Regions from separate parts of the Homo sapiens genome. Here regions 1, 2, 3, 5, 6 and 7 are each linked to region 4. The links are contacts of gene promoters, found by promoter capture Hi-C in blood cells and fetal thymus (Javierre and others, 2016). All regions are on one chromosome and are shown on one strand. The core of a region is centred on a gene start or on the middle of the fragment in contact, and the rest is flanking DNA. Distances in the headings are between cores, read along the strand shown.

Region 1 (3,350 bases), core at 584-3,083, 2.3 Mb before region 4:
ACTCATGATCTCACTCTTTTGACTCAGAAAAAACTCAGGACTCCCTGGAAAGTCTGAACCTCTACTACCCCTGAAGAATATTAAATTCTTCATATCACAAATACTCTATTAGCTTTATTTTCTAAAACTTTTAATACCATATTTCAAATATAAAACTATATTAAACATTCTTCTTAAACAACATCACTCTTTCCTACCTCCACAGACAAAATTAACTATTTATATAAGATGAACGTTTATAATAAGTGCCATTTAACCCAGAGACTCCATGATGCTACCCGACAGTTTTAGAATACTGAGGTATTCCCAGTAACCTAATACCACTACTCTTACATCTAAGTCATAAATAAGAATAATTCCCCCTACCTATACAATTCTGTGCAACACTGAAATCTAATTGAAATCCCAGCTTCACTGGGGCAAGCTACCTAATTTGCTTATCTCATATAAAACAGGTATCACGTAAGTACCTAAATCAAACTACCTGTTCTGAAGACTGAATATCTGTATGCATATATATAAAATTATATGCTTTCAGTCATGTTTACATGTAAATGTATAAATGCATACATATATGTTTTAAAGTGCAAATAAGCACATAAAATACCCAGTAACTGTTATTACTATAAAACTAGGCAAATAAATTTAAAATGTCTCATTTTCTTCAGCCCATTACATGTATTTAATACATATTACCAATCAATTCAAAATGTCAGACATGACCATTAACTAGACACTTAGAAAATTTTGAAATTGAAGTGGTAAAAGGTCCTTCACCACTTCAATTTAATCAAAATAATGTTCCTCCTCTGCAACTCATTATGTATAAAACTTTACAAAGATGAGGCACAGATTTTCTATCATATACTAGTTTCTAAAGAACTTATTCCCATAGGGAAGCACTTAAATCAAAGGTACCCTTCTTAGAGCACTTAGGATTCCTCTAAAGGAAACATAGTAAAAAATAAAGATTAGAAATTTTGGCAAAAACCGATAATCAAATAAGGAGCTTTTAGTGCCCAAATAGTCAAAAAATATCTATTTTTTTAATTTTTAAAAACTGATCTTAGGAGAAAATAAATACACTTTGATATTTAAGAGAAACAAACCACATACCTTGGATTAAATTTTGCTTCTTCCATCATTTTTTTGAAATCTTCCTTGGCTTGCATTATTTTATTTTTCTTTTCCCTGCGTTCTTCCTCTGCCCTGGTCTTTACATACTGATCAAACACCTATTATAAAAATCAACAAATTTGACAAGTCAATCTTTCATATAGGTAATTTAACTACCAAATTATTGGACAATGTCTTTGTCCAAACTATACCAGGAAAAATATATTAACTGTAGATAATTATACACAGATAATCTATACCAAGTTTCACTTTAAAGCTTCACTGAGATATTACACAAGCACACAGCTCTCTACTTAGGCTTCAAGAACAAAAGAAAACAGCAAAAAGCCTCTTTAATTTTTTTCCCGATTATAAATACATGATTATTATAAACATGTCAAGAAATTTAGAAATGCGGAAGAGAAATCACAGTCTTCCCAAATCCCTTTTAGAAAGAAATATCAATGGTATGGAATCTGTAGTATATTTTATTTCCGTGCTTCTCTTAAGACATAAGTATTTTCACTAAAATGTAATCATGCTTTACATCTATTCTATATTTCCCCCACTTAATAATACAGTCAAGATAATGAACTGATCATCTATTTACCACCTACTTCACACCCTACAAAATGACAGAAGAACTTCTTTTTTAAGTCATAACCCAACAATGATTGAGAAAAAAAGAACCAGCAACTTGCAAAGCTGATGGGACAAGTGGAAAAGGATGTGACAGATATGAGAGCACTCAACATAACCTAGCAGTCAAGAAAAACAAAGAGGCAACTCAAGTTTTTTTTTCTGAAACCAGAATCTCCTCAAACAACTCAAGAATAGACAGCATCAGATACCTATGGAGGTGAGGATGGGGCATAGCTAAAATAAGTAGTATTTTAAGGATGAAAAGCTATTTAATAAGTTGTTAAATTGCCAGATGCCCCCACCAACTTAATGTTTCTGGGCACTGCCACTTCTGAATGTAAAAGGCAAGTGACTATTCCAAAGCAAATAATTGGCAAACTATGGCCTACGGGTTGTTTTTATACAGCTCAAGGATAGTTTCTACATTTTTTAAAGGTTGAGGGGAAAAACAAAGTTTCATGACACATGAAAACTAAATAAAATTCAAATGACAGTATTTCCATAAATAAAGCTTTAACTGAACAGCCATGCTTATACCCTTACGTATGTCTACAGGTACTTGACACTTAAAACAGCAGTTGCAAAGTTACAATAGAGACCATATGGCCCACAAAGCCTAAAATACAAATTATCTGACTCTTAAAAATTTGCTGACTGCCTGCTCTAGAAAGTAAAAGAGAGTGTCTTTGAACTAAGGGAATCTGAATTGGGAATAAGGCAAACCAAACTAAAAACATGGAGATTAACCAAACACATACCAAATACTAAGACACAGTTAGTTCTCTCAGATCCGAAGCAGAGAGATCTGTGCCCTCCAGCCAGATTAGAAGTCTTTATTGGGAATCTGACCAGCCTAAAACATTGGCTCCAGGGGTTCTCAACAAACCAGCCTAACTCACCCTACAGCATGTTTCTCAACCTTGGCACAGTGATGTTTTGAGCAAGATGTATACCAGCATCCCTGGCCTCTACCCACTAGATCCCAGCAGCACTCACTTCAATGGTGACAAAAATGTCTCCTGGGGGCAAAACTACTCGTGGTTGAGAACCACCACTCTGCAGTACAGCCCCAAAGCACGAGGGCCCACCTAAATGCTAAGAATACCCAAATAGGCCGGGCAGTGGCTCACACCTGTAATCCCAGCACTCTGGGAGGGCAAGGCAGGAGGATCATTTGAGCTCAGGAGTTCAAGACCAGCCTGGGCAACGTGGCAAAATCCCATCTCTACATGCAAAAAAAAAAAAGAGTACCCAAACAGCATTTTAGTGCTTCACTTAAGTAGTCAGGGTCTACAAGACATCTAAGGAAACTCTCCAACATGAAAAATAGAGCCCTAAAGAGAACAAACTTAGTGGAATCAGAAACTATACAGAAAAATAAAAATATAAAAGAAAAAAATGTTCCTAAACAACCTCACAGAGCTAAGATAATGCACCCATAAGGCAAGAAAAACCTCAAAAAACATAAAAGAACTCTTAGGAATTAAAAGACACAATAAATTTTAAAAATCTAAATAGTTGGTTAATAAAGGCAAGGAAATTATCCAAAAAGTTAAATAAAAAGACAAAGGTAATTAACAGGAAAGAGAAAA
Region 2 (3,277 bases), core at 303-2,802, 2.9 Mb after region 4:
CGGGGGAGCCGCCATTTGCTTTCCTGTTCCCTAGCTAGCTAGCTAGCTCTCTCCGCGTTGTCCGGCAGCGGCACCTAGAGGTTGGGACTTGGCATTGCATCTGATTTAATGAACTTAAGTCTGTGAATAAGCCTTTGTGTTAACGACTGGTATTCGGTCACAGCATATTTAGAGAAAAGACTTGGAGCTTAAATAAAAACTAAGGCAAAATAGACGCTTAGCTGCTGATCTACAGAGAACTTCTTGTAATTAAAAGATTTCAATTCATAGCAAACTGGTGTTTTAAACTATTGCAGTAGCTGGAACTTTTTAGTGTAACCAGCATTTATTGGAGAAGTGAATCACAAGGAAATAAAGATGAGTAAAAGCAAAGATGATGCTCCTCACGAACTGGAGAGCCAGTTTATCTTACGTCTGCCTCCAGAATATGCCTCTACTGTGAGAAGGGCAGTACAGTCTGGTCATGTCAACCTCAAGGACAGACTGACAATTGAGTTACATCCTGATGGGCGTCATGGAATCGTCAGAGTGGACCGTGTTCCATTGGCCTCAAAATTAGTAGACCTGCCCTGTGTTATGGAAAGCTTGAAAACCATTGATAAAAAAACTTTTTACAAGACAGCTGATATCTGTCAGATGCTTGTATCCACAGTTGATGGTGATCTCTATCCTCCTGTGGAGGAGCCAGTTGCTAGCACTGATCCTAAAGCAAGCAAGAAAAAGGATAAGGACAAAGAGAAAAAGTTTATCTGGAACCACGGAATTACTCTGCCTCTAAAGAATGTCAGGAAGAGAAGGTTCCGGAAGACAGCAAAGAAGAAATATATTGAATCTCCAGATGTTGAAAAAGAAGTGAAACGATTGCTGAGTACAGATGCTGAAGCTGTTAGTACTCGGTGGGAAATAATTGCCGAAGATGAAACAAAGGAGGCAGAAAATCAAGGCCTGGATATCTCTTCTCCAGGAATGTCTGGTCACAGGCAGGGCCATGACTCATTAGAACATGATGAGCTTCGGGAGATATTCAATGACCTCAGCAGCAGCAGTGAGGATGAAGATGAGACCCAGCATCAAGATGAAGAAGATATAAACATCATTGACACGGAGGAAGATCTGGAGAGACAGCTACAGGACAAGCTAAATGAATCAGATGAACAGCACCAGGAAAATGAAGGAACCAATCAGCTGGTTATGGGAATTCAGAAGCAGATTGACAACATGAAAGGCAAGCTCCAAGAGACCCAGGACAGGGCAAAACGACAAGAGGATCTCATCATGAAAGTGGAAAATCTGGCTCTCAAGAACAGATTTCAGGCTGTACTGGATGAGCTCAAACAAAAGGAAGACCGAGAAAAGGAGCAACTCAGCTCTTTGCAAGAGGAGCTAGAATCACTCCTAGAGAAGTAAAAAGAACTGATATTTAATTTCAGTCTTCAGACTGGTCAGCATTAGAAAATTCTTGGCTTTATTGTACTGGGTATTAAGACCTTGCTCTTCCTAGTCCTTTTAATGCTGTGTGTTCTGTTAAGTTCTTTCATTTGTTTGTAATTTTGTTTTTCAGCAAATTTATATTGTTTTGCTAGGTGTTCATCCTATAAGAAGCAGGATTGTATAGGCAGAAAAATGATTGTAGGAAAGTTGCAGGATTAGCGGAATGTATGGTTCAACCTTAATTATAGCTTCATTGCAGGACTTTACTGTTTCTCCATTTTCTAGAAGCTGCTGTTGCTGCTTTGTGATGACGTGAGATCAATAAGAAGAACCTAGTCTAGAGACAATGATGCTAGTTTGCATATGTTTTCCTATGCAATAATTGTTTTCCCAGTTATTCAAAGCAGCTTTCTATATGTAGAGATGCAAATTATTAAGTTGTTTCCAATACAATAAATAAAAGCATCTGTTTTTCACTTTATAGTGTATCTTGTTCTTTCATGGTTGGTGGGAGTCAGGTCCTCTTGTGAGGTGGTTTTATGGTGGAGTTTAGTGACTAAGCAATTTGATCCCGTTCTGCAGGTAGAGGCAGTAGGGTTTATGAAAAAAAGGAACACAGCAGGGGTAAAGAAATTGGGAATGGTCATGTTTGCATCATATTAAGATTCCAATTCTATTTGATCTACTTGAAAGCTGGGAAACATTAGATACAGAGCTTTCTTAAAGTACCCTAATTTTTGTAGATGAAGGCCTTTGTGCCTTTTTTAAAAAGCGCTAAATCTACCTGCATAAAATGTTGGAAACAAAGCAGTGGTTATCAAGTGCAGTCCAATGAACCATTCCATTGGTTTGGATTAATATTTCTAATTTTCTTCAGTTGAGTTCCTATAATTAATATTCTGAGAACTGAGGTCATTTATCAATGTCATTTCATCAAAATTGCTCATAAAGGAAGTTGGTACCAAATTTCTCATGCTCTAAAGATAATCTAATGCCTCACAACATAAGCTATTTTTGAAAAATCAGTTACTGATAAAAGAGGCAGAGTTGTATGCAATTTGTTTGACAGGTTGGTTTATGAGAAGCTTGGGTTTGAAAATATTTAAAGTTTTTTTTTTTGAGACGGAGTCTCGCTGTGTCACCCAGGCTGGAGTGCAGTGGCACCATCTCGGCTCACTGCAAGCCCCGCCTCCTGGGTTCACACCATTCTCCTGCCTCAGCCTCCTGAGTAGCTGGGACTACTCAGGTGCCCGCCACCATGCCCAGCTAATTTTTTTGTGTATTTTTAGTAGAGACGGGGTTTCACTGTGTTAGCCAGGATGATCTTGATCTCCTGACCTCATGATCTGCCCGCCTTGGCCTCCCAGAGTGTTGGGATTACAGGCATGAGCCAGCGCGCCCGGCCTCTTTTTTTTTTTTTTTAAGACAAAGTTTTGCTATTGTTGCCCAGGCTGGAGTGCAGTGGTGTGATCTCGGCTCACTGCAGCCTCTGCCTCCTGGGTTCAAGCGATTTTCCTGCCTCAGCCTCCCGAGTAGCCGGGATTACAGGCATGTGCCACCACACCTGGCTAATTTTGTAGTTTTAGTAGAGACAGGGTTTCACCATGTTGGTCAGGCTGGTCTTGAACTCATGACCTCAGGTGATCTGCCCACCCTGGACTCCCAAAGTGGTGGGATTACAGGCCTGAGCTACCACACCCGGCCTAAAGTCCATTTTACTTCTATCTGACAAGAAACAGTATTGAAATGTTAAAAAAAAAAAAAAAGTTACCTAGTCCTCAGGTCTATAATTAAATATGCTGACATTTGCAGACTTCAGAAGGCTAATTTATCTTTTTAAGTGAAA
Region 3 (3,512 bases), core at 233-2,732, 2.0 Mb before region 4:
GGGTTGTCAACTCCTGATGTATAGTAATCTGTCAGACTCGAGGTTTTATGTACATCACATGAAACTTTTAGTTTTCTTGTTGTAAACATATATATATACACACACATATATAAAATATTCTAGGCTTCCTGATGAATACATAAATAACACATATCCTTCACAGTCAGGTTATGAAGGTAAAATGAAAACATTCAGGCTGGGTGCAATGGCTCATGCCTGTAATCCCAACATCCTGAGAGGCTGAGGCAGGAGGATCATTTGAGCCCAGGAGTTCAAGACCAGCCTGGGCAAAATGGCAAAACTCTGTTGCTATAGAAAATACAAAAATTAGCCAGGTGTGGTGGTGCACGTCTGTAATCCCAGCTACTCGGGAGGCTGAGGCGGGAGGATGCTTGAGGCTGGGAGGCAGAAATTGCAGTCAGCCGATCACACCACTGCACTCCAGCCTGGGTGACAGAGTGAGACCCTGTCTCAAAGAAACAAAAAACAAACAAACAAACAAACAAAAAATTCAGAATAACAGTAAGTAAAACCATTATGCAAGCAAAGTGATTATATAACCTATAAAACACTATTCAAATCTAACTAATCTTGTTCTATAATCCTTGGGCCTTCACTAGCAGCCAGAAAGTTAAAAGGTTTCAGCTCACTTGGGAGGCTGAGGCAAAAGGACACCTTGAGCCCAGGAGTTGGAGGTTGCAGCAAGCCATGATCATGCCACTGCAGTCCAGCCTAGGCAACAGAGTGAGACCTTGTCTCCAAAAAAAAAAAAAAAAAAAAAAAAAAACAGGCTTCAGCTCAAGAGTATCAATCACATTTCCAATAACTTTATGAGATTAGTAAACAAAATAAAAACCAAGCACCAGTACCTTTACTTCCTTCTAGTTTTTATGCTTAAAGTTCGTAATTCAGTAACACAACTTTTTTTGTTGTCAATATTAACACTGTCATGGGAAAGGCTGGTTCTTTAAACATCCATTCACCTGGCCGGGCACGGTGGCTCACATCTGTAATCCTAGCACTTTGGGAGGCCAAGGCGGGGGGATCACCTGAGGTCAGGAGTTCAAGACCAGCCTGGACAACATGACGAAACCCCGTCTCTACTAAAAATACAAAAATTAGCCAGGCAAGGTGGCTGGCACCTGTAGTCCCATCTACTCCAGAGGCTGAGGCAGGAGAATCGCTTGAACCCGGGAGGCAGAGGTTGCAGTGAGCTGAGATCGCACCACTGCACTCCAGCCTGGGCAACAGAGCGAGACTCCATCTCCAAATAAATAAATAGACAGAGAGTCACTCAAGGCTGGGCCTGGTGGCTCATGCCTATAATCCCAACACTTTGGGAGGCCAAGGCTGGCTGCTTAAGCCTAGAAGTTCAAGAGCAGCTTGGGCAATATAGCGAGATCCGGTCTCTACAAATAATATAAAAATTAGCCAGGCATGGTGGCGCACACCTGTACTCCCAGCTACTAAGGAAGCTGAGACAGGAGCATTGCCTGAGCCTAGGAGGTCAAGGCTGCAGTGAGCCATGACCACACCACTACCCTCCAGCCTGGGATACACAGTGAGACCCTGTCTCAAAAAATAAAAAATAAAAGAAAGTAAAGATTTTTCTTAAGTAAAAAATGTTACATTTTGGAGAATTATGAACAGATAACCTTAGTAAGGCCAACTGTTAAATTCTAAAATTGATAAATATATTGTAAACTTGAATTTGCTAAGAGAGTAGATCTTAAGTGTTCTCACCACACAAAAAAAGACAGCTATATGAGATGATTATGTTAACTAGCTTTTGATATATATGCACATTTCAGCATGTGCATATATATCAAAACATCACACCTTAAATACATACAATTTTTATTAATAAAATTTTAAATTAAAAACCAAAATAGTGAATATGTAGCCTTTCTATCTTCAAAAAATATTATGGTTGGGTGTGGTGGCTCACACCTGTGGGAGGCCAAAGTGTGGGGAATCGCTTGAGTCCAGAAGTTTTAGACCATGGTGAAAACCTGCTTCTACAAAAAATTAACCAGGTGTGGTGGCATGCACCTGTGGTCCCAGCTACCCAGGAGGCTGAGGTGGGAGAATCACATGAGCCCAAGAGGTGGAGTTTGCAGTGAGCCGAGATTGTGCCACTGCACTCCAGCATGGGCAACAGAGCAAGACTGTCTCAATAAAATAAAATAAAAATTACACATGCCAGCTGGGCGCGGTGGCTCACGCCTGCAATCCCAGCACTTGGGAGGTCGAGGCAGGAGGATCACGAGGTCAGGAGTTCAAGACCAGCCTGACCCAAATGGTGAAATCCCGTCTCTACTAAAAATACAAAAATTAGCCAGGCGTGGTGGTGTGCACCTGTAATCCCAGCTACTTGGGAGACTGAGGCAGGAGAATCACTTGAACCCGGGAGGCAGAGGTTGCAGTGAGCCAAGATCACACCACTGCACTCCAGCCTGGGTGACAGAGAGAGACAGTCTCAAAAAAAAAAAAATTACACATGCCATGCTTACCCTGGCTATTCTATAAACACCTTAAAAAACAGATGTGTAGGCCAACTTAATTTCACCCCTGAGAATAATGAGAAAATTTTTATCAGTGTAGTTCTAGTCTACATTCATATGGAGGAGAGAAGGGGAAAAAAATTACATTTCCACCTTTACTTAAAAAGTTTAGTTCTTGGATAAGGGTAGTCTAACACAGAAGAAAAGGACTTAGAAAAATAAATAAGAATGGAAGAAAATGGCAATGTTATTTTCTCTGACGTTATAGGAACCTTCAAGGAGTCTAATGATCTGATAGATTTAGTGCTGGGTATGGATAATAAAGTTTCTATATGTTAGGAATGGGCAAAACATTCAGATATTGGATAACTGAAATGGGTTTAAGAAACCCAGATATCGGCTGGGTGCAGTGGCTCATGCCTGTAATCCCAGCAGTTTGGGAGGCTGAGGCAGGAGGATCACCTGAGGTCAGCAGATCAAGATCAGCCTGGCCAACATGGTGAAACCCCATGTCTACTAAAAATACAGAAATTAGCCAGGTGTTGTGGCATGCACCTGTAATCCCAGCTACTTGGGTGGCTGAGGCAGGAGAACTGCTTGAGCCTGGGAGGCAGAGGTTGCAGCAAGCCGAGATCACGCCAGTGCACTCCAGCCTGGGCGATAGAGCGCGACTCAGTCTCAAAAAAAAAGAAAAGAAACCCAGATATCTTTTACATATATTTAGCATACAGACTCTAAAAACCATATGCCAAGTTAGGCTGCTTCTGATGAAACACATTTTGATATGATAGTGCTAAAAATCAAGATGAATATACAGGAAAGTAAAAGAGTAGAAAAGGTTAGACTCCAGGAGAAGAGAATGATCACAGATTCTAAACATTTGTTTAATGTGAGGGAACAAATGATTGTTAATAACTGACAGAAATCTGCACCAAATACAACAGCATGTTTACAGCCAAAGGAATAGGACCATTTACATTTAACAGCTCCTAACATGTATCCATAAAG
Region 4 (3,533 bases), core at 806-3,305:
AACATTAATAATTATGCTGAGGGTAAGTAAAAATAGGCAGAAAATGGGACAATGGAATTGTCTCCAGCAAATCATAATATGTGGTCATTCTACCTGAAGTTGTGCAGATGATACCTAAACCAATAAATGCTAAAATGATTGATGAAAGGTGGTGAACACTTGAATGAGCAATTTCAGAAATTCAAAAATATAGTTAGAAAGCACAAAAATCTAGTGTTCAGTGGCAAAATAGGGTAGCTATAGTTAACAATAATTTATTGTATAGTTCAAAATAACTAGGAGTAGATTTATAATTTTCTCTACACAAAGCAATGACAAATGTCTGAGGCGACAGATATATCTCAATTACCCAGATTTCATTATTACACATTGTATGCTTGTATCAAAATGTCACATTTATCTCATAAATATGTACAACTATGATGTATCCACAAAAATAAAACAAATAAATTCGCTAATGGGTAAAAACCTCAAAGGGCAGCTGCCTGTTGGTCTCTAGAGTACAATCCTAGGTTTTTTGGTTGGGTCTTACATCCTTTTGTTGTTGCTATTTTTGTTTGGAGGGGAGTGCGTTTTCTGTTTGTTTTATTGGGGTGGGGGGTGTTGAGAGAAAAGTTTTAAGTGAAATTTTATTGTTCCTTTGGAAACTAGTCCCCAACAATGGTCTGGCTTCTTTTGTGAGGGCCTCAGGATTTTGATCCCAGAATATAATGCAGTGGCTCATGATAAATTTTATTGCTATAAACCCTGAAGAAAGTTCTGCTCATTAGTTAATAGCATCTTATTTCGAGTCACAATATTCGGGATTCCACCATCTTGGGAAAGTGATTTAACACAGGAGCCAAAGCAATCATTTTCAAAAGAAAACAATTTAAACATCACTCATCAGTTCACAATCTTCACTTCTTTTAGAACCAACACACAAATCCCACAGGATATTTCCTGGCCCCTTCCTGTTATTCCAGCCTCAACTCCTATGTGGCTCCCCTCACTTGCTGTTCCAGTCACTCAGGTTCCACTTAGAAGAGTGGTTGACAAATTCAGCTAATGTTGCCCCCACCGCCCCCAAGGACATTTGGATTTGGCAATGTCTGGAGAGATTTTTAGCTGTCACAACTTGGTGGTGATGGTGGTGGTGGTTGGTTGGGGGGAGTACTGGCATCTAATGGCTAGAGATTAGGGATGCTACTGCTAAGCATCATGCACAGGGCAGCCCCCAATAAAGAAACATCCTGACTCAAAATGTTAATAATGCTGAAGTTCAGAGCTCGATTTTCATCTTTCCTCAGACCATGCTTCCCAGATCTTGCACACATTGTTCTCTTTGCCTAAAATATTCAGGCTATTTTCCCTTATCCTCCTTTCCCGTTGCCCTTTCTTCTCTTTTCTGGTCTTCTCTAACTCCCACTCACCCTTTGATAACCCTCTTATAGTGGCTTTACAGACTCTTCTTCCCAGATGAATGTTACTCTTTCAAAGAATTATGGAACACTAAAGAATATTAGTAGCAATTTCACATGCATTTGTATGTGTTCGATTACCCCTCTCCACCACCAACTCCAGGTGGGTAGATGTCACCTAGCTTATATTTACCACAGTATCCCCAGCAGCTAGCACAGAATGAATGAATACTTAATAGCTTCACTTACAAAAGGGAAATAGGGTAACCATCTCATTAGGTTGTAAAGATTAAATAATACATACAAACACTTTAGCACAGTGCTTGAATCACAGTAAATGCTGACACCGAGGCATTGTAGGCATTGTAGTTTGTGGACAGGAGAGGGGACTCCGTCTGTCTCATTTTAGCGCCTCCCAGTCTTCCTCCATCACCTAGGTCTGAGAAACTCCTCCTCCTACCTACGAGTAAGCAGCAATTGCTACGCCTGCGCTTTCCTGGTTCCACCCCTAACCAGGCTGCCGGAAGCACTTTCCTCTTTGGCACGGGCCAGCCGCAGGTTGGGTAGATACTGCGCAAGCTCCATACTCGTGTCTCCTCCTCCCGCCCACCGGTGCCCAACCTGCTAACACGCCTGCGCGAGCGGGCGTGCCCCGGAAGCCGTTCTTTGGCCCTGTGACACGTAGCAACGGGGCTGGTTCAGGGTCTGAAACAGAGTTTGGGGGTTGTTTGGGATTAGTGAAGCTACTGCCTTTGCCGCCAGCGCAGCCTCAGAGTTTGGTGAGTGACCCAGGCCCGTGGCACAGTGTTCAGCTTCTCTCCACACCCGTGCAAATGGGCTTGTTGCCGTCTTTCGGCGCCGCGCCCTGGTCCTTTCGCTCAGACCCTCGCTCTCATTCAAGCCCTTGCCCTGACGCGGTCCCCTGCACCTCAGGCGCGACCTTCCAGATTCTGCACTTTTTCCTGGCAGGCCGCAGGCCTTATTTTGCAAGGAAGCAGTCGCCTTGTCAGCTGTAAAGCCCAGTCCTAAGGTGAAAAATCATCTTTGTTGTTATTGATATTTTAGACCGCTTATGGAACCACAACTCCCACGACCTCGCCCCTAATGGAAGGCATATCAGCTCTTTAAGGTGGAGTTGTCTTACTGGGCCGCAACTTAAAAGAATATACATTTTCTTACTCTCTCTCCGCTACCGTCGTTCAAATGCTGCGTACTTTCCGCCCCCATCCCCTCTCCGAATTACTGAAAAAATATTTGTTGTGTTTCTATTTGCTTAAGCAGACTGCCAGGAACGAATTCAGTAGAACCTTGGGCATAAGGAATATTTGCCATTTCTCTTTTATTACAGATTATTTGCAATGTCAGGCTTTGAAAACTTAAACACGGATTTCTACCAGACAAGTTACAGCATCGATGATCAGTCACAGCAGTCCTATGATTATGGAGGAAGTGGAGGACCCTATAGCAAGTAACTTTTCATCTTTGGCAATTAATTTAGTCTACATTGCAGTGAAAACACATATTTAGAATATTTGGTTCTGCCTAAAACAATATGTGAACATGTCCTTTATCAGGAGTATGATCTTTCATGCATAATCTTCTTCCTCTAGAGAGATATGTGACACTGGCTTGGCTTCGAAGGTATTGTTCTATTTAAGAGTTGAGTGTCTTCTGCAAACTCTTCAGGTGTACCATGAATGGAAAAGTAGCTTGTTTGAAGAACTGTTTTCTAGTAACAGTATTTCTGTATTTAGAAGATGATGGGAGCTTCAGGTACCTAGGAGATAGGCTGTTAGTTCATAGGACCAGTGAAAAATTAAAGTATTTTGTTAGTAGTTAAATCAGTCCAACTCTGAGACTTTTATCAGTGCTAATTGAAAGTGCTTAGTGACATTATTTAATGATGTAAGCTCCTTATTACGAATCATCAGGCGATTTTCATACAGCAGTTGATAATCATTTTTATTACTCCTCCTTCTCAAACCCTTATGGTCAGTGCCACACGTGTTATAAGTTGCATACTGAGGAGGTTGACTCAAAGCCGTTAGCCTCTGAACATTTTTTTTTAAATGATCTTTTTATAGTACCTGGTGTTTGTGACAAAAATACATGAACTGAAGGCTTTCTAGCAAT
Region 5 (3,460 bases), core at 196-2,695, 2.3 Mb before region 4:
GGTTGCAATGAGCCAAGATCAAGCCACTGCACTCCTGCCTGGGCAACAGAGCAAGGCTCCATCTCAAAAAACAAACAAACAAACAAACAACCAAAAAAACAAAAAAAAAAACTTACATCAATGGATGATCTAGTTTTGGATGAATGATCAATGGATGCCGAGTCTAGGCAAAAATTTAGACAAGAGGGTTATCTGATGGTCTTAAAGTATTTACCCACATGCTGCTTAAAGTTGCAAGAAAGGATGAAAAAAAAAACACTCTACATAATCTACGTAATAAGGAAATTAGGCAATACCTTGACCCCGTGATCAAAACTAATTATCATCTAAGAAGGACAGATAGATAATGTGTGACTGAGAGAGACACGACATCACCTATTCCGACCAAAAATGTATAACCTCAATCTAACAACGAGGAAAGTATCAGACAAACTCAGAATAAGGAAGGAATGTTCTTTCTTTTCTTTTCTTTTTTTTTTTTGAGACCAAGTCTCACTCTCTTGCCAGGCTGGAGTACAGTGGCATGATCTCGGCTCACTGCAACCTCCGCCTCCCGGGTTCAGGCGATTCTTCTCCCAAGTAGCTGGGACTACAGGCATGCGCCACCATGCCCGGCTAATTTTTTTTTTTTTTTTTTTTTTTTGTATTTGAGTAGAGATGGGGTTTCACCATGTTGGCAATGGTCTTGATCTCCTGACCGCATGATCTGCCCTCCTCGGCCTCCCAAAGTGCTAGGATTATAGGCATGAGCCACAGCGCCTGGCCGGAAGGAATGTTCTATTAAAAGGGGGATGTGTATTCTTCAGATATGTCAATGTTATCCATAAAAGACAAAGAAATGTTGTGGAAATGCTCCAGATTAAAAAAGGTTAAAGAGTCATAACAACACAATTTTTTTTTTTTTTTTTAGAGACAGGGTTTTGCCATGTTGGCAAGGCTGGTCTTGAACTCCTGACCTCAGGCGATCTGCACACCTCAGCCTCCCAAAGTACTGGGATTACATGCGTGAGCCACCACGCTCGGCCAATAACAACACAATTTTAACTCTAGATTGGATTCTGTACTAACAGGAGGAAATGCCATACAGGGCATTGCCAGATCAACTGACAACACTGGAATATGCACAACAGATTAAAGTATTATATCATTACAAATTTATGAAGTTGATAATTAGGCTGTAGTTAAGTAAAATAATATCTCTATTCTTAGAAAATACTGAAGTATTGAAGGGTAAAAAGCCATAGGTATACCTTACCCTCACAGTTCAGAATAACAAAGAGGATGCACGTGTGCACGCAAATAGTAAAGCAGAAGAGGTAAAATATTAACATTGAATAACACCCTAGCTTTATTTTTGCGACATTTTGTAAATTTGAAATTACTTCCAAAGTTTTTAAAGGGGGCAGGGGGGTCACTTGGCAGATCATTAGTAGTCTCTACCTAAAGGGAAAGCCTTTCCCTGTAGGGCACACTGCCCCACCACCCCTCACTCTCAACACCCTAATGTATTTTCTCCACAGCATTTAAGCAAATAAGTAATATCACATGAGATAGTATTATCTATCTCTTCCCCCAAGTGCTTTTGTAAAGAGAATTATTAACTCCTAAAAGTGCTTACTATGAGCCAGGCAGTGCTTGCTCTAAGCTCTTTTCAAAAATTAAGTCTTTTAATCATCAAAACAACCCAATGAGATGGATACTATTAATCTCAGTTTATAGATAAAGAACTAAAGCAAAGAAGTCACTTGTCCAAGGCCACACAACTGGTTCAGTACTAAAGCCAGGATTCAGGTGGCCCACGGTGGCTCGCGCCTGTAATCCCAGCACTTTGGTGGCCAAGGCAGGCAGATCATTTGAAGTCAGGAGTTCAACATCAACCTGGACAACATGGTGAAACCCCATCTCTACTAAAAATACAAAAAAATTAGCCGGGCATGGTGGTGCACGCCTGTAATCTCAGCTACTTGGGAGGCGGAAGCAGAAGAATTGCTTGAGCCTGGGAAGTGGAGGTTGCAGTGAGCCGAGATTGTGCCACTGCACTCCAGCCTGGGCAATAGAGCAAAACTCTGTCTCAATAATAAATAAATAAAGAAAATAAAGAGAGGATTCAAACACAGGCAAATGCTCCTTCAGAGTAGGAATTGTGTTCACTCTTGTATCCCTAGCACATAGATCTGTACATAGTAGGGCTCAATAAATATTAGTATTAGTATTTGTTGCATGAACCACTGAATACCTAGGTGATACAGTACCCAAACTACCTTACAAGTAGCGTATGCAGGATCTTAAAAAAATTATTTTTACAATTCCACCCATTTACTGAGTACCTATCATGGTATTCCCAGTAGCTACTATACATCTACATTATACATAAAAAACCTACATTTCTGTCCTCAAGAGAGGAATTAACAATTATATTCTTTATATATTTGAAAATAATCATTCTTATAGTCTCTCGTTACCAGGCTCTTTCAACTTTCTGACATTTTTCAACCCTCTGCTTATAGATTACCCTTTGAACTTTCTCTAAATTTACCACATCATCGTTCAATTCTGACACACACCAAAAAAATCCTAATAAAGAACCAATTTAGGCCAGGAGCAGTGGCTCATGCCTGTAATCTCAGCACTTTGGGAGGCAGAGGTGGGCAGATCACTTGAAGCCAGGAGTTCGAGACCAGCCTGGCCAACATAGCAAAACCCTGAGTCTATTAAAAATACAAAAATCAGCCAAGCATGGTGGTGCATGCCTGTAGCCCCAGCTACTTGAGAGGTTGAGGCATGACAATCACTCAAACCCAGGAGGCAGAGGTTGCAGTGAGCCGATATTGCACCACCGCATTCCAGCCTGGGCAAGAGAGCGAGACTCAAGTCTCAAAAAAATTAAAAAATTAAAAAAAAAAAAAACTAATTTGCCTTCTGGACTTGTTTACAGTCCTGGTATAACCAGGACTGTAAACAAGTCCAGAACTACTACACCAAGTATATTTAATCAAATTTGCAAATGATCCTACAATCCAAAGGTTAGAAAATATGAGTTAAAAAGGAATATGGGCCGGACGCCCCCCGGTGGCTCACGCCTGTAATCCTAGCACTTTGGGAAGCCAAGGCAGGTGGATCACCTGAGGTCAGAAATTCGAGACCATCCTGGCCAACATAGTGAAACCCCCACTCTACTAAAAATACAGAAATTAGCCGGGTGTGGTGGTGCTTCCCTGTAATCCCAGCTACTCAAGAGGCTGAGGCAGGAGAACAGGAGGAACCTGACAGGTGGAGGCTGCAGTAAGCCAAGATCACACCACTGCACTTCAGCCTGGGAGACAGAGCAAGACATTGTCTTAAAAGAAAAAAAAAAAAAAAAGGAATATGGATCGCATCAAAATAATCAGAAGGTCTTTTTCAAATTATATGCATCCCCAAAAGACACAGGCCACTGTTACTGAAGGAATGTCCAAACTTT
Region 6 (3,630 bases), core at 835-3,334, 2.2 Mb after region 4:
ATCGTAAATACTTGCCAGGGCCAGCAATTCATCCTCCTGAGCTTCTCGATCTTCTGACGACATAAGGACCTGAAAACATTAAAATCAGTTAAGAACAGAAAATGCACAGAGGCTGGCCGGGTGTGGTGGCTCACACCTGTAATCCCAACACTTTGGGAGGCCGAGGCGGGCGGATCACCTGAGGTCAGGAGTTCAAGACTAGCCTGGCCAACATGGTGAAACCCCATCTCTGCTAAAAATACAAAAATTAGCCAGGCGTGGTGGCAGGTGCCTGTAATCCCAGCTACTTGGGAGGCTGAGACAGGAGAATCGCTTGAACCGGGAGGTGGAGACTGCAGTGAGCCAACATCACGCCACTGCACTCCAGCCTGGGCGACAAGAGTGAAACTCCGTTTCAAAAAAAAAAAAAAGAAAAGAAAATGCACAGAGGTGGAAAAAGCTTAATGGCACAAAAAACAACTGCAAAGAATTAATCGATATTATCACTTTTCTCCTAAACCAAAAATGACAGCCATATCTGGCATTCCATTAGTTTTGCAATATTAACAGTCTTTTTCAAAAGGGATGGTTGTGGTACTTCTAATTCCTGATCTTATCAGTTAGATATTTTATGACTGAATTAGAGGAAAAAAAGCACAATTTGAAAATTTTCTTTGAAAAGGACAAATCACAAATTTACTTTGACTTGTCCACTGAACCTAGCAATGTGCCTGGTTCGCAAAAGTGGTCAAAGTATATTACACTCCTTTCTTAAGTTAATTTGCCAGGCGCGGTGGCTCGTGCCTGTAATCCCAACACTTTGGTAGGCCGAGGCGGGCAAATCACCTGCAGTCAGGAGTTCGAGACCAGCCTGGCCAACGTGGTGAAACCCCATCTCTACTAAAAATACAAAAATTAGCTGGGTGTGGTGGCTCACCCCTGTAATCCCAGCTACTCGGGAGGTTGAGGCAGGAGAACTGCTTGAACGTGGGAGGCAGAGGTTGCAGTGAGCTGAGATTGCACCATTGCACTCCAGCCTGGGCGACAGAGTCAGACTCTGTCTCAAAAAAACAAAAAAGTAAATTTTTTAAATCCACAGGAATCTTTAGGGCAAGTTTTCTTAGCTTCAGCTCTATTGACATTTTGAAGTAAATAATTGTTGTTGGAGAGCTGTGTTGTGCATTATAGAATCTTAACAGCATCCCCTGGCTTTTACCCACTAGATACCCAATAGTGGCCCGCTTCCACCCACAAGAGCTGTGACAACTGAAAATATCTAGCCAGGTGTGGTGGTGCTTGCCTGTGGTCCCAGCTACTTGGGGAGCTGACATGGGAGGATCACTTGAGCCTGGGAGGTCGAGGCTGCAGTGAGCCATGATAGCACCACTGCACTCCAGCCTGAGTGACAAAGTGGGACCCTGTCTCAAAAAAAAAAATATCTCCAAATAGCGCCAGGTCCTGGGGCAGGATGGGGGTTGGAGGCAAAATTGCTCCCAGGTGAGAAAACAGTGCTTGAGAATGTTACAGGCATAGATATTATGGAAGAAAATTAGATAACTGAGCAAGCAGCAAAATAATATTAAATTTTTGAAATAATAGATTTTGTCAAATCCAAGCAGTCACCAATTTAAAGATTCACCATTATGACTCAAGAATATTTAAAAGATAATAATTTTAAGAAAGATTTACCATTATTTTAGGTAATACTAAGAATTTAGCTACAAGGCCCAGGCACAGTGGCTCAAGTCTTTAATCCCAGCACTTTGGGAGACCAAGGCAGGCAGATCACTTGAGGCCAAGAGTTCAAGACTAGCCTGGCCAACACAGCAAAACCCCATCTCTACTAAAAATAAAAAAATTAGCCGGGCATTGTGGTACACGCATGTAATCCCAGCTACTCGGTGGCTGAGGCACGAGACTAGAGAATCACTAGAATCCAGGAGGCAGAGGTTGCAGTGAGCTGAGATTGCACCACTGCATTCCAGCCTGGGTGACAGAGACAGACTCTGTCTCCAAAAAAAAAAAAAAAAAAAAAAGGAAAGAAAGAAAGAAGAAAGAAAGGAAAGAAAGAAAGAAAGAAAGAAAGAAAGAAAGAAAGAAAGAAAGAAAAAGAAATTAGCTACAATTAAAGTATGAACTGGCTGGATATGGTGGCTCATGCCCGTAATCCCAGCACTTTGGGAGGCCAAGGCAGGAGGATCACTTGAGGCCAGCAGTTTGAGATCAGCCTTGGCAACATAGCAAGATCCTGTCTCTATAAAAAATTAGCCAGGTGTGGTGGTGTGTGCCTGTAGTCCCAGCTACTCAGGAGACTGTGGCAGGAGGATCGCTTGAGCCTTGGATGCTGAGGCTGCAGTGAGCCGTGTTTGCACCACTGCACTCCAGCCTGGGGGACAGAGCAAGACCTTGTCTCAAAAAATAAAGTATGAATCAATGTTTTTTAAAATAGCATCAACTGAAAGATACAGCAATTTCAGATAATTTAAATGTGAAAAAAATATGCAATGAGAATTTACAAAAATCATTTTAATAAAACAAAACTACCAGTCAATTAAAATATTGAACTACAATTGCATTTGCAAATATCCTCCCTCACAACTAAAATATTTTTAATTAAAATGTACATAAGTAAAAAGTTAGGATTTTTTACATTTTAAAAGGTCATACTATGAAATTAAAAATGATTTCATTTTCAAAAAACACTTTTTTTCTAGGAGATGTTAGTTCATGGCTCTGCTTAAGCTGCATCCCTATCTAAGACACAATTACATGTTCTACTTGAGGTCAGTTAGTACCTGTTAATAACAATCAGAAGAAAAGGATATTAACACCGCAGTCTGTATTTCAGCTCAGAGTGGAGTTCATGCAAATCCCATTTATTCTCTAACTGGTGGAGCTGAGACTGCTGAAGCTGGGTAAGAGGCCAAGATGTGGAACTCATACTACATATATTATGAAAATCCTGCCATCTGCAGAAAAGAAATACAAAAGATGGTGTTAGGACCCTCTCCAAATTAAAATTCTGAATTTCCATGATCACTGCTTAAGTCAAACATATCCTAACATATAGCCAATCCTAATCTACAAGTGCATGTTACTCTCCTAGGGCAGGCTAACTGAGCCATGTGGTTAAAGGAGTATTTGCATGTCCCCAGCAATGACTGAGGACTTTTTATCTGTCTGCCCTCAGCTATGGGAGGAGCTAAGGAGGAACACCAAGGTCATATGAAAGTACAGGACACCATGCCCCATAACAAACAATCTCTTCAGTTTGTTTTTTGTTTTGTTTTTTTCTCCTTTCCTCTTCTGCTTCTTGTATTCCTTCATTTGCCACTCCCCTCCAGTTTTTCCTCTCTTGTTCATGAATTAAGCCTGCCAGTGGCACTCAAGGTTAATTTTGGTAACAGAAAAATACTTAAACAAAACAAGAGTACACAAACACAAACTTTTAAGTTTTATTCTAAATGCTTTAGAGCTAGGCTTCTTCACTGGGGTGAGGGGAAAAGGGAGTGTGGTCTATAGATGGGCTACGGAGAATCCTATCAACACCCTAAAATTATATGCAAAAATACTATATACAAAACCATAATTAAAAACCAGATTCTCGGATGTGTAACTCCCAAATGAGATAAGAATGAGATTCAGAATCAA
Region 7 (3,467 bases), core at 736-3,235, 2.0 Mb before region 4:
TCTGCAGCTGTGGGCTTCATCTTTTACACTCTCTTATCCCTTCTTAAAACAAGTTATCCATTTGTAAACTGCTGATTTATTTGGGGGCATTGTCCCCATAAGGTTTTTGTAAAGCATGAATAATTTACCATTATTCCACCCAAGCTTCACAAAAAATTTGATGTTTGTTCTTTCTTCAATTTTAGCAGAATTCATGTTGCTCTAATAGAGGCCCTTTTCAAACTGATGTCTTATCCCTCTTAGGGCCTCAAACTAGATCCTGTTTAGAAATGTTGTAACAAGTTCGTATGAGTTTATTTTGTTAAAAACATTTGAAATCCATGCATAGTTTTTTCATAATACACATTTTCCATAAACTTTTTGAAGACTGTGTGTGTGTGTCTTCTAAAGGCCTATATGCAGACACACACACACACACACACACACACACACACACACAAATGAACACAAAACATGTATCGATGTCAATATTCTGGTCTTGAAATTATACTACAGTTTTGCCAAAAGTTACCATTGACTGGGTGTGATGGCAGGTGCCTGTGATCTCAGCTACTCAGGAAGCTGAGGTAGGAGGATTGCTTGAGTCCAGAAGTTTGAGACCAGCCTGGGCAACAAAGCAAGACTTTGTGTCAAAAAAATAAATGCTGCCATTGGAGGAAACTGGGAAGAGTGTGTGAGGGTTCTTTCTGCATTATATCTTACAACTGCATATGACTCTAGAAGTATCTCAATTTTTTAAAAAGTTGCTTCAAGGCTGGGCACGGTGGCTCATGTCTGTAATCCCAGCACTTTGCAAGGCTGAGGCAGGCAGATCACATGAGATCAGGAGTTTGAGACCAGCCTGGCCAACATGGTGAAACCCTGTCTCTACTAAAAATACAAAAATTAGCCGGGCATGGTGGCACTAGCTGGGAGGCTGAAGCAGGAGAATTGCTTGAACCTGGGAGGCAGAGGTTGCAGTGAGCCAAGATCACACCACTGCACTCCAGCCTGGACAACAGAGCAAGACTCTTTCGGGGCAAAAAAATAAAAAAAGAATGTTGCTTCAAGGCAAGCATGGTGGCTCATCCATAATCCAAGCAATTTGGGTGGCTGAGTAGGAACATCACCCAGGAGTTCAAGACCAGCCTAGGCAACATGGTGAGACCCTGTCTCTACAAAAAATGAGGCAGGAGAATTCCTTGAGCCCAGGAGGTCAAGGCTGCAGTGAGCCATGTTTGTGCCACTTGGGTGACAGAGAAAGAACCTGCCTCAAATAAATAAATAAATACAAAGTTGCTTCACACGACTACAGTGGCTCAAGCCTGTAATCCCAGCACTTTGGGAGGCTAAGGCAAGAGGATCTCTTGAGCCTAGGAGTTCAAGACCAACCTGGGCAAGATAGCGAGACCCCGTCTCTACAAAAAATTTAAAAATTTTCCAGGTGTAGTGGCGAATGCCTGTAGTCCCAGCTACTCAGGAGGCTGAGGTGAAAGCATCACTTAAGGCGGGAGGTAGTGGATGCTGTGAGCTGACATCGTGCCACTGCACTTCAGCCTGAGTGACAGAGCCAGACCCCGTCTCTTAAAAAAGACAAAAATATTGCTTCACATGTTAAGAGCAGTGTCACCAGGGAGAAAAGGTTGAGAATGGCATCTTTAGGTGTGTGGTTACTGGAAATAGTCCTTGCCCCAATTCCCCAAGATCTTTATGTGTTCCCACTGGACCTGTGTGGGGACCCAGATCTGACGTCCTTGCAGATTATATAAGCATCCAGGAGAAATGTGGAAAGCTCCATGTCAGCAGTGACTGTTGGGTTTTCTTGGGCAGGGGGGAGCAGGGAATACAAAACAGCAGTAGTGGACTGACAAGACTCCCATTCCATCTGGTTATCCTTCTGATGTTAGAAGAGTCCACTCTGATGTTTAAAACCGTCCACTCTTCTTTGGATTAAATAAGCCCCTTGTGATTTAGACATATCAAATAAAAATAACTCATACTCATGTGTGCCAGGCACTCTGCCATGCAACTTTACATGAATTAGCCTCTTTCAGTTCCTGCATTCAGCCTTCCTTACCTTCAAGCAATATTGATTGAAATCTATCATAAGTAGAACACTATTATAGGCCCTGGGGATACAGCAATGAAGAAAATAGGCATTCTGTTGGAGATCTATTTCAGTAGCAAGATAATAATGACAAATAACAATATAATATGTCAGGTGGGATACATTCTAAAAAGGAAAATAAGGCAAAATGAGGAGATAGAGAGTGACGGGGAAGGTAAAAAGACTGAGCAGTGGCTTGAAGGTAGTGTGGGTGTTAGCCGTGTAGATATCTGGGATAGAGGCTTTCCAGGGAAGTGCAAAGACCCTGAGGCAGGAGCTGACTTGGCACATTTGAGGAAAGGAAGGAGGCAATGGGGCTGGAGCAGAATGAACCAGGAAGAAACTGATGGTACATGAGTGAAAGAGGTAGTTAGATGCCAGATCATGAAGGACCATGTAACGGTAAGGACTTTAGATTTTACTTCTATGCCAGGTGCGGCGGCTCACATCTGTAATCCCAGTATTTTAGGAGGCCAAGGCAGAAGAATCACTGGAGTCCAGGAGTTTGAGACCAGCCTGGGCAACATAGCAAGACCCCATCTCTACAAAAAATGAAAAAACTAACCAGGCATGGTGGTGCGTGCCTGTGGTCCCAGCTACTCAGGAGGCTGAAATAGAAGGATCACTCCAGACTGGGAAGTCAAGGCTGCTGTGAGTTGTGATTGCACCATGCCTAGCCTGGGTGATAGAGCAAGATCTTGTCTCAACAACAACAAAAAATTACTTCTGAGATTAGAAGAAGGGTTTTGTTTTTTGTTTTTTGTTTTTTGTTTTTTGAGATAGTCTCACGCTGTCGCCCAGGCTGGAGTGCAATGGCGCAATCTCGGCTCACTGCAGCCTCCGCTTCCTGGGTTCAAACAATTCTCCTGCCTCAGCCTCCCAAGTAGCTGGGAGTACAGGCGCCCACCACAATTCCCAGCTAATTTTTGTATTTTTAGTAGAGACAGGGTTTCACCATGTTGGCCAGGCTGGTCTCAAACTCCTGACATCATGATCTGCCTGCCTCGGCCTCCCAAAGTGCTGGGATTACAGGTGTGAGCCACCATGCCTGGCCAGATACTGAAGGTTTTAAATAGAGTAATGAAATAATCTCATCCGCTGTTTTTTTTTTTTATGGGATCACTGTGGCTCCTTTATGGGTATCAGACTGAAGGGGGCAAAAGAGGAGGTACGAAAACTAGTTAGGAGGCTACAACATTAATTCAAGCAAGCAATGATGATGGTGTGGACTAGACTTATAGTGAGAAGTTGGATTTTGGGTATATTTTGAGAGTGGAGTCAACAAGTTTGGCTGATAGATTGTGGATATGAAAGACAAAGAGGAATCAAGAATGACACCAAAGTGTATGGTCTGAGCACTGGCTTGAAATTGGGAAAAATG

What was found. Contacts are between HindIII fragments. The CHiCAGO score rates a contact against its expected background, and 5 or more counts as called.
Region 1: a fragment that was not itself captured here is called in contact with the fragment with the promoter of YIPF5 in region 4 in 1 of 17 cell types (naive B cells); the score reaches 6.3 in naive B cells.
Region 2: a fragment that was not itself captured here is called in contact with the fragment with the promoter of YIPF5 in region 4 in 1 of 17 cell types (total CD8 T cells); the score reaches 6.8 in total CD8 T cells.
Region 3: a fragment that was not itself captured here is called in contact with the fragment with the promoter of YIPF5 in region 4 in 1 of 17 cell types (total B cells); the score reaches 5.7 in total B cells.
Region 5: a fragment that was not itself captured here is called in contact with the fragment with the promoter of YIPF5 in region 4 in 1 of 17 cell types (total B cells); the score reaches 7.7 in total B cells.
Region 6: a contact is called between a fragment that was not itself captured here and the fragment with the promoter of YIPF5 in region 4, in 1 of 17 cell types (fetal thymus). The highest score is 9.5, in fetal thymus.
Region 7: a contact is called between a fragment that was not itself captured here and the fragment with the promoter of YIPF5 in region 4, in 1 of 17 cell types (neutrophils). The highest score is 6.5, in neutrophils.

Annotation. Positions count from the first base shown.
Region 1 is chr5:146,490,805-146,494,154 of GRCh38, reverse strand. It overlaps TCERG1 (transcription elongation regulator 1), which reads right to left. Exons shown (of 23, transcript NM_001382548.1): 16 at 1,117-1,235. Among named protein-coding and RNA genes, the nearest start is that of GPR151, 24 kb to the left of the region's middle. The HindIII fragment of the contact is 876 bases long and covers 1,396-2,271 here.
Region 2 is chr5:141,317,125-141,320,401 of GRCh38, reverse strand. TAF7 (TATA-box binding protein associated factor 7) reads left to right here. Exons shown (of 1, transcript NM_005642.3): 1 at 1-1,912. The coding sequence starts at 358. The coding sequence ends at 1,407. Among named protein-coding and RNA genes, the nearest start is that of TAF7, 2.0 kb to the left of the region's middle. RefSeq lists an enhancer at 1-89. The HindIII fragment of the contact is 1,932 bases long and covers 587-2,518 here.
Region 3 is chr5:146,214,740-146,218,251 of GRCh38, reverse strand. All of the region lies in intron 1 of RBM27-POU4F3 (RBM27-POU4F3 readthrough), which reads right to left. The region is part of intron 1 of RBM27 (RNA binding motif protein 27); the gene reads right to left. Among named protein-coding and RNA genes, the nearest start is that of RBM27-POU4F3, 13 kb to the right of the region's middle. The HindIII fragment of the contact is 4,825 bases long and covers 1-3,512 here.
Region 4 is chr5:144,169,181-144,172,713 of GRCh38, reverse strand. It overlaps YIPF5 (Yip1 domain family member 5), which reads left to right and starts at 2,055. Exons shown (of 6, transcript NM_030799.9): 1 at 2,055-2,179; 2 at 2,749-2,868. The coding sequence starts at 2,759. KCTD16 (potassium channel tetramerization domain containing 16) reads right to left here and starts at 1,841. Exons shown (of 4, transcript NM_020768.4): 1 at 1,705-1,841. RefSeq lists an enhancer at 1,914-2,193. The HindIII fragment of the contact is 8,610 bases long and covers 1-3,533 here.
Region 5 is chr5:146,451,221-146,454,680 of GRCh38, reverse strand. All of the region lies in intron 1 of TCERG1 (transcription elongation regulator 1), which reads right to left. Among named protein-coding and RNA genes, the nearest start is that of TCERG1, 5.6 kb to the right of the region's middle. The HindIII fragment of the contact is 8,635 bases long and covers 1-3,460 here.
Region 6 is chr5:141,970,022-141,973,651 of GRCh38, reverse strand. It overlaps RNF14 (ring finger protein 14), which reads right to left. Exons shown (of 9, transcript NM_004290.5): 2 at 2,775-2,948; 3 at 1-69. The coding sequence starts at 63. Among named protein-coding and RNA genes, the nearest start is that of RNF14, 2.7 kb to the right of the region's middle. The HindIII fragment of the contact is 3,286 bases long and covers 442-3,630 here.
Region 7 is chr5:146,195,751-146,199,217 of GRCh38, reverse strand. No RefSeq gene overlaps it. Among named protein-coding and RNA genes, the nearest start is that of RBM27, 6.1 kb to the left of the region's middle. The HindIII fragment of the contact is 3,677 bases long and covers 147-3,467 here.